2 separate regions of the Homo sapiens genome follow, and region 1 is linked to region 2. The links are contacts of gene promoters, found by promoter capture Hi-C in blood cells and fetal thymus (Javierre and others, 2016). All regions are on one chromosome and are shown on one strand. Each heading gives the region's core, a stretch centred on a gene start or on the middle of the fragment in contact. The rest is flanking DNA. Distances are from core to core; before and after follow the strand shown. Region 1 holds the start of NAGLU (N-acetyl-alpha-glucosaminidase). Region 2 holds the start of DHX58 (DExH-box helicase 58).

Region 1 (3,863 bases), core at 1-2,500, 420 kb before region 2:
CAGTTAAGAGCCCTGGGGCCGGCCTAATACCACCCTTCCTGGGCCCATGACCATCTATCACCGATTCTGCCCCTTCCCTTTTCCATCCTTTTACCTGCAGGTAAAGCTGCTTGATGTGCCAGGAGGGGGGCAGGGGGCCATCCCAGGTGTGCAGGTTGCCCATTCGCCCCCAGGCCAGGAAGGCAGGACCAGTAAAGAACTCATTGATCTCTGCCTGGGTCAGGCCCAAGGCCAGGTACACCTGAGGAAGAAGGGCCCACACATAGAAATATATTCATCTTCATTCATTCATTCATTCATTCAACAACCATTCACTCATTGCTTCTTTGTGCTGGGTGCTAGGGCTACTGAGACAAAATCCGAACGCTGCCATCAAGGAGCCCACAGCCCAGAGGAAAGAGACCTGTGAGTAGGTGAGTTCACTGTGTTGCCTTTGTCGCATGGGTGAGGAGATGGGGCACAAAGGGGCTTTCCCCCAACAGGAAGGCCTTAGAAGGCTTCATGGAGCAAGAGTGCCAGATGGAAGGGCAGGGCAACTGTGTGAAGAGCTTAAGCAGAGCCTGGAGCAGCCATTGCAGCACAGAAGCTTCCAGGGAGGCAGATCTAGAGCTGCCCATGAGTTGGATCCAAGGGACCAGGTGATTGGCTGCATAGGGGAGATGGGGGAAGGAGCCCCACTCCTCAAACTGGAAGCCTCAGTTTTTTTTTTTTTTTTTTTTAGACAGAGTCTCGCTCTGTTGCCCAGGTTGCTATTTCTTTGTATTTTAGTAGAGACGGGGTTTCACAATGTTGGCCAGGATGGTCTCGATCTCCTGAACTCCTGATCCGCCCGCCTAGGCCTCCCGAAGTGCTGGGATGACAGGCGTGAGCCACCGCGCCCGGCCGGAAGCCTCAGTTTTTAGGAGGCCCAAGCCACTGTGCACGCTGAAAGCACTTCTAGAGAGAGACACTGCGCCCATGCTGGGGGGCGGGTGAAAACACCTACGGTGGCTCCCGCCATAGAGGAGGGTGGGGAAGGGACAGTGGGCACGCACCCGCTGCCAGATGGCCTCCTGGCCGCTCCAGGCCAGTGCCAGGTTGATGCCATTCAGCGCCATCCAGTCTATCTCTCGCTCCCAGCGGGCCCAGTCCCACCACACGAAAGAGTAGCTTTGCGTGCACACATTCTGGTAATAGCGGTACCTGCGGGCAGTGTCATGAGCAGGGGCGCATCCCACCCTGGAGGGTCCACGGCCCTGGAACAAATCCCCCATCCCCCACCTAGAGGAGAGGGGAGGGGCTCCAAACTCGGCCCTTCTGCTGCACACTGGGACCCACCCCAGGTGGAGCTGAGACCAGGTACCGGGGCTGGGCTTCTGAGGCACTCGTCCCCTGCACTCTCCCAGGGCCCTCTAGCCTGGCGGGTATTTGGGTGGCATATTCCACTTTCATGCCACACTGCCAGAGCCCCTCCTCTGCACGGTGTTTTCCTGGAACGGGGAATCCCTGCCCCCACAGTCTAACAGATGGGCAGGGGAGGACAGCTGTGTGAACACATCACTCCATAGTGTGGCAGGCGCTGGAACACAGGCCTGTAGGGTGGGGGATGGAGGCGTCCTTCCTCAGTCCGCAGGTTCAAAGAGAAGGTGGGGGAGGAAGGCAAGAAAATTCACTCATCACCAATTGTGCACCACAAATTCTATGCCCATCATCGTGCAAATCCTCACAATAACACTGCACGGTAGGCGTCTTCTTTCCGTTTTTCAGGTGGGCCAGCCGAGGCTCTGAAAGGCAGAGTGGCTGGCTCAAGGCCACACAGCTGCTGGAGGCGGCGCAGCTGGGCCTTCCGGCCAGCGCTCCCCGCTCAGCCTCCCGATTTGGGTGGCAGCGGCTCCGGGAGGGGGTAAGCGCCTCGGGCGGACGCGGGGAAGCTTCGGGGCGGTACCTGTTGGGCGTGGCCTCGGTCAGCTCCCCCGGCACGGCTGGCAGTGGCCGCGGCAGGCGCAGCTGAGAGCCGGACCAGGCCACGTGGCAGCCACAGAAGTCGCGCAGGTAGCGGTGCAGCCCCGCGGCGGCCGCCACGCCCGTGGAGCCGCGCACCCGCACGCGCGCCGCGCCGCCGCCGCCCAGGCTGTAGGTGTCCAAGCCCGGCTTGGCAGCCAGAGCGCGCTCCACCGACACGGAGAAGTCGGCCGCGGGGCCTGGCCCCAGCAGCCGGGCCACGAGCGCCCGCACGGCCGCCGCCTCCCGGGCCTCGTCGCCTGCCGCGCCCCCGGCCCCGGCCAGGAGAAGGACCCCCACCGCCGCGGCCACCGCCACCGCCTCCATGGTCTCAGTCCTGCGGGTCCCGCGACGGCCAGGGGGTGGGGCGGCCCGCGTCCAATCAGCTGCCGGCCTCCGGCCACGTGGACCCGAAGGCTAAGCCCGGGCTCAGGGCCAGGAGTCGCGGCTTCCGGGTACCAGGATACTCCCTTGGGGGCGTCTCGTGACCGCACGCGGTGGGGAGCGTGTGACCCCGGCTCCAGGGCCGAAGGGGACCCGCTGGCCCTCACAGAGCGCCTTCGGGTAAAACGCGCTTTCACACGCAAATAACTTCCATCCAACCATCTAATAAATACACATTTGGAGTTTATTTTGTATCAGGCACTGCCATAGCTACTTCCCTACTGATGAACGAGAAGACGGTCCCTACCGTCCCCGTCAGGGAGGTGACCTAGAAACCAGATATTTAACGTAAGTAAGGATTTCCATCATAGTTGTGATGCTGCGAAGTAGTGCAGTAAGTAGCGAAGTAGCGAAGTAAGGTTTCCAAAGGAAGTGACTTTTAATCTGAAACTCAGGGATGAATAGGAATTGGCTAGAAGAGGGAAAGGAAGAGCCTTCCAGACAGAAGAAATGCATTTATTGAAGGCCCTGAGAAGGCAGAGAGCTTGCAGATTTGAGTAACTAACAGGCTAGGAGGTTCGAGGAGGGATGGGGCCATGTGAGCCCAGGCCGGCGGTGGAGCAGGGCTGGCGGGCACGTTAAAGGCTGTCCATTGGCGGCAGCAGCAGCAACATAACAGGAGCTGTCATTTTGTCAGAAGTTTCCAACCAGAGCGACTCCATCTTGAACAGGGGCTGGGTAAAATGAGGCAGAGACCTGCTGGGCTGAATTCCCAGGAGGTTAGGCCTTCGTCACAGGATGAGACAGGAGGTCAGCACAAGATAAAAGGTCACAAGACCCCGCTGATAAAACAGAATGCAGCAAAGAAACTGGTCAAAACCTGCCAAAACCAAGACAGGAAGGTGACCTCTGATCGTCCTCACTGCTCATTATACGCTAATTATAATGCATTAGTATGCTAAAGACACTCCTAGCAGCGCCAGGCAGTTTACAAATGCCATGGCAACGTCCAGAAGTTACCCTATATGGTCTAAACAGTGGAGGAACCTTCAGTTGGGGGGGATCCCCACCCCTTTTCTGAAAAATTCATTACTAACCCACCCCTTGTTTATCATATAATCAAGAAATAACCATAAAAATAGCCAACCTTAGGCCAGGAGCGGTGGCTTACGCCTGTAATCCCAGCACTCTGGGAGGCTGAGGCTTGCAGATCACCTCAAGTCAGGGGTTTGAGACCAGCCTGGCCAACATACAGTGAAACCCCGTCTGTACTAAAAATACAAAAGTTAGCCAGGTGCTGGGCGCGGTGGCTCACGCCTGTAATCCCAGCACTTTGGGAGGCCAAGACGGGCGGATACGAGGTCAGGAGATCAAGACCCTCCTGGCTAACACGGTGAAACTCCATCTCTACTAAAAATACAAAAAATTAGCCGGGCGTGTTGGCGAGCGCCTGTACTCCCAGCTACTCGGGAGGCTAAGGCAGGAGAATGGCGTGAACC
Region 2 (3,634 bases), core at 449-2,948:
CACTTCCCACTTTGCAGGAGAGACAGGCTGGAAGCCATTGGGGAAGGAGAAGGGGTGAGTGTCAAAGGAGCCGGGTTGGGGGTGGGGCAGAGGGACTTGGAGCCTCAGACTTGGTGTCTCTCGCCCCAGGAAGGAGCTGAAGGACCCCGACCAGCTCTACACAACCCTCAAAAACCTGCTGGCCCAAATCAAGGTGGGGAGACCAGGTTTCCTTTCCAGGGCCCCTGCACCAATGGCTGTGGCCTCTTGATGCAGTGTGGGGTGGGTAGTGGTCTCGGGCTGGCGTGGGCGCAGCAGGGCTGTCCCCAGCCCGGCTCTTCTCTCCAGTCTCACCCCAGTGCCTGGCCCTTCATGGAGCCTGTGAAGAAGTCGGAGGCCCCTGACTACTACGAGGTCATCCGCTTCCCCATTGGTGAGGACCTTCCATTCCATCCCCTTCCCTCCTCTTCTGTCCCCACACCTGCTCCTGCCCTCACTGCGCCCTGCAGCCCCAGGGGGCCCACCCTGGTGGACAGCCCTGCCGTGGTCTTCAGCCTCTTAAAGCTGTGCTCCGTCTCCTGCTGCCCCAGACCTGAAGACCATGACTGAGCGGCTGCGAAGCCGCTACTACGTGACCCGGAAGCTCTTTGTGGCCGACCTGCAGCGGGTCATCGCCAACTGTCGCGAGTACAACCCCCCGGACAGCGAGTACTGCCGCTGTGCCAGCGCCCTGGAGAAGTTCTTCTACTTCAAGCTCAAGGAGGGAGGCCTCATTGACAAGTAGGCCCATCTTTGGGCCGCAGCCCTGACCTGGAATGTCTCCACCTCGGATTCTGATCTGATCCTTAGGGGGTGCCCTGGCCCCACGGACCCGACTCAGCTTGAGACACTCCAGCCAAGGGTCCTCCGGACCCGATCCTGCAGCTCTTTCTGGACCTTCAGGCACCCCCAAGCGTGCAGCTCTGTCCCAGCCTTCACTGTGTGTGAGAGGTCTCCTGGGTTGGGGCCCAGCCCCTCTAGAGTAGCTGGTGGCCAGGGATGAACCTTGCCCAGCCGTGGTGGCCCCCAGGCCTGGTCCCCAAGAGCTTTGGAGGCTTGGATTCCTGGGCCTGGCCCAGGTGGCTGTTTCCCTGAGGACCAGAACTGCTCATTTTAGCTTGAGTGATGGCTTCAGGGGTTGGAAGTTCAGCCCAAACTGAAGGGGGCCATGCCTTGTCCAGCACTGTTCTGTCAGTCTCCCCCAGGGGTGGGGGGTATGGGGACCATTCATTCCCTGGCATTAATCCCTTAGAGGGAATAATAAAGCTTTTTATTTCTCTGTGTGATTGTTTCTTTGGTGTAGTCCCAGCCTTAGCAGGCTCACCTTGGCCCCCAGGGACCTCTTGCAAACTGGAGGCTGCTCTCCCCAGCAAGCCTCAGGCCTGGTCCTGTGCTCCTGGGGTGATGGGTCCTACCTGCCTGCAGCCCCCCACCTCTCCCTCCTCCAGGCTGCTCCTGATCCAGATGCCAGGGCAGCAGGGGTCAGAACCTCCTGCCTTCACCTTAACCTGGGTGGATGTGGTTACAACTGACTGCAGAAGGGCCAGAGCGTAGAGGATCCTGTAGCACTGAAAGAGTGCTTCCCTGTTAGCACACGTGGTTCTTTTTCTTGGGGCAGGGATAGGAGATTCGTAAGTCGGCTCAGCTGGCTCCTCCCCTCAGTTTCAGTTTCCATTTCTGATTTCTGCTCTCTGCGCTGAGCACAGCGGCACCAGGCTGAGCTAAGCAGGGCCGCCTTGGGCAGGCCTACGTGGTGGTGCAGGCGAGACCCAGGCTGGGCAAGGCGCAGGTGTAGCCTGTGTTACTCCCACCCCCCCCCACCCCCACCTTTTGGCCACAGCAGGCTTCTGATGAGTTTTGAGGGTGTCCCCCCCCCCACCTCCCTCAAGTGGGGTGGAGTCCTGGGCAAAGGGAGGTCTCTGTACCGACTGCTCTGGCCAGGAGTTGGGATGAGTGGAGGGCCCAGTGGGTCTGAGTCCCCTGCCATTCCCAGAATGGAGCTGTGGCCCTACCAATGGGAGGTGATCATGCCTGCCAGGGCGCTGGCGCAGCAGCAGTACTTAACCGGAGTTTGTACTCACGGCAGTTGGCGATGACTGTTAGCACAAACGGTTCTTTTCTCTTGGTTCTTTTTCCTGGGGCGGGGATGGGAGATTCCTAAGTCGGCTCAGCTGGCTCCTTCCCTCAGTTTCAGTTTCCATCTTGGGTCTCTGAGCTGAGCAGAGTGGCACCAGGCTGAGTTAAGTGGGACTGCCCTGGGCAGACCTACCTACTAGAGCAGGTGAGTCCTGGGCTGGGCAGGGGGCAGGTGTAGCCTGTGTTACTCCCGCCTCCCCCTTTTGGGCAGAGCAGGGTCCTGATGGGTTCTGAGGGAGTCCTGCCCCACCTCCCTCAAGTGGGGTGGAGTCCTGGGCAAAGGGAGGTCTCTGTACTGACTGGTCTGGCCAGGAGTTGGGAGGGGTGGAGGAGTCGGTGGGTCTGAGTCCCCTGCCATTCCCAGAATGGAGCTTCGGTCCTACCAATGGGAGGTGATCATGCCTGCCCTGGAGGGCAAGAATATCATCATCTGGCTGCCCACGGGTGCCGGGAAGACCCGGGCGGCTGCTTATGTGGCCAAGCGGCACCTAGAGACTGTGGATGGAGCCAAGGTGGTTGTATTGGTCAACAGGGTGAGTGGTCTGTCCCTACCCCGCTCTCCCACCACCAAGCAGGGTCTTAGCTCTTCAGGCATCTCCCAGTCCCCACCAGAACTCCAAAGCTGCTGTGGCCATCGCTAAGCTCACCTGTCTTTCCACCCTGGCTCAGTACCCAGCCATGTCCTGCGGGTCACCTTACCGCCTCCCTACCCCTGGCCCCAGATTCAGCTCTCTTTTCCCAGCTCATTCTCCACCCCCAGGTGCACCTGGTGACCCAGCATGGTGAAGAGTTCAGGCGCATGCTGGATGGACGCTGGACCGTGACAACCCTGAGTGGGGACATGGGACCACGTGCTGGCTTTGGCCACCTGGCCCGGTGCCATGACCTGCTCATCTGCACAGCAGAGCTTCTGCAGATGGCACTGACCAGCCCCGAGGAGGAGGAGCACGTGGAGCTCACTGGTGAGGGCCATGGCCGGGAGGAAAAAGATACGCATCTGGGGTACCTCCTTTCGCCAACCCCAGGGCACCTCCTGGAGTCAAGGTGTTGGGAGTTTTAGTGGGAGTGAGGGGTTGCCTGTTCACAAAACCCCTGCAGGCACTCTAGTAGAAACAGGCCGGGCTATCGTGTAGGATCTTAGGCCAGTCCCTTCCCCAGCTGAGCCTCGGTTTACTAATCTGTGAAATGGAAAGAAGTCTTCCCTGCCTGGCTCCTCATCCTGGGACCAGCTGCAGGTTGTGAAGGGAAGAAGGAATTCTTACATCATTGTGGGGACTACTTGAAAGCTGATGGGAGGAAGGGCTTTGCAAACATAGGTCACAGCCTTCCCCCCTGTGCCCTCAGTCTTCTCCCTGATCGTGGTGGATGAGTGCCACCACACGCACAAGGACACCGTCTACAACGTCATCATGAGCCAGTACCTAGAACTTAAACTCCAGAGGGCACAGCCGCTACCCCAGGTGCTGGGTCTCACAGCCTC

What was found. Contacts are between HindIII fragments. The CHiCAGO score rates a contact against its expected background, and 5 or more counts as called.
Region 1: a fragment that was not itself captured here is called in contact with the fragment with the promoter of DHX58 in region 2 in 1 of 17 cell types (fetal thymus); the score reaches 7.0 in fetal thymus.

What each region holds. Positions count from the first base shown.
Region 1 is chr17:42,534,717-42,538,579 of GRCh38, reverse strand. NAGLU (N-acetyl-alpha-glucosaminidase) reads right to left here and starts at 2,339. Exons shown (of 6, transcript NM_000263.4): 1 at 1,925-2,339; 2 at 1,035-1,182; 3 at 95-241. The coding sequence starts at 2,307. RefSeq lists silencers at 1,837-1,906, 2,027-2,436 and enhancers at 1,296-2,033, 2,547-2,626. The HindIII fragment of the contact is 1,324 bases long and covers 589-1,912 here.
Region 2 is chr17:42,110,778-42,114,411 of GRCh38, reverse strand. It overlaps DHX58 (DExH-box helicase 58), which reads left to right and starts at 1,698. Exons shown (of 14, transcript NM_024119.3): 1 at 1,698-1,807; 2 at 2,207-2,299; 3 at 2,519-2,687; 4 at 2,915-3,116; 5 at 3,499-3,634. The coding sequence starts at 2,520. KAT2A (lysine acetyltransferase 2A) reads left to right here. Exons shown (of 18, transcript NM_021078.3): 15 at 18-54; 16 at 130-193; 17 at 328-412; 18 at 570-1,301. The coding sequence ends at 763. RefSeq lists enhancers at 1,331-1,850, 2,091-2,190. The HindIII fragment of the contact is 8,851 bases long and covers 1,287-3,634 here.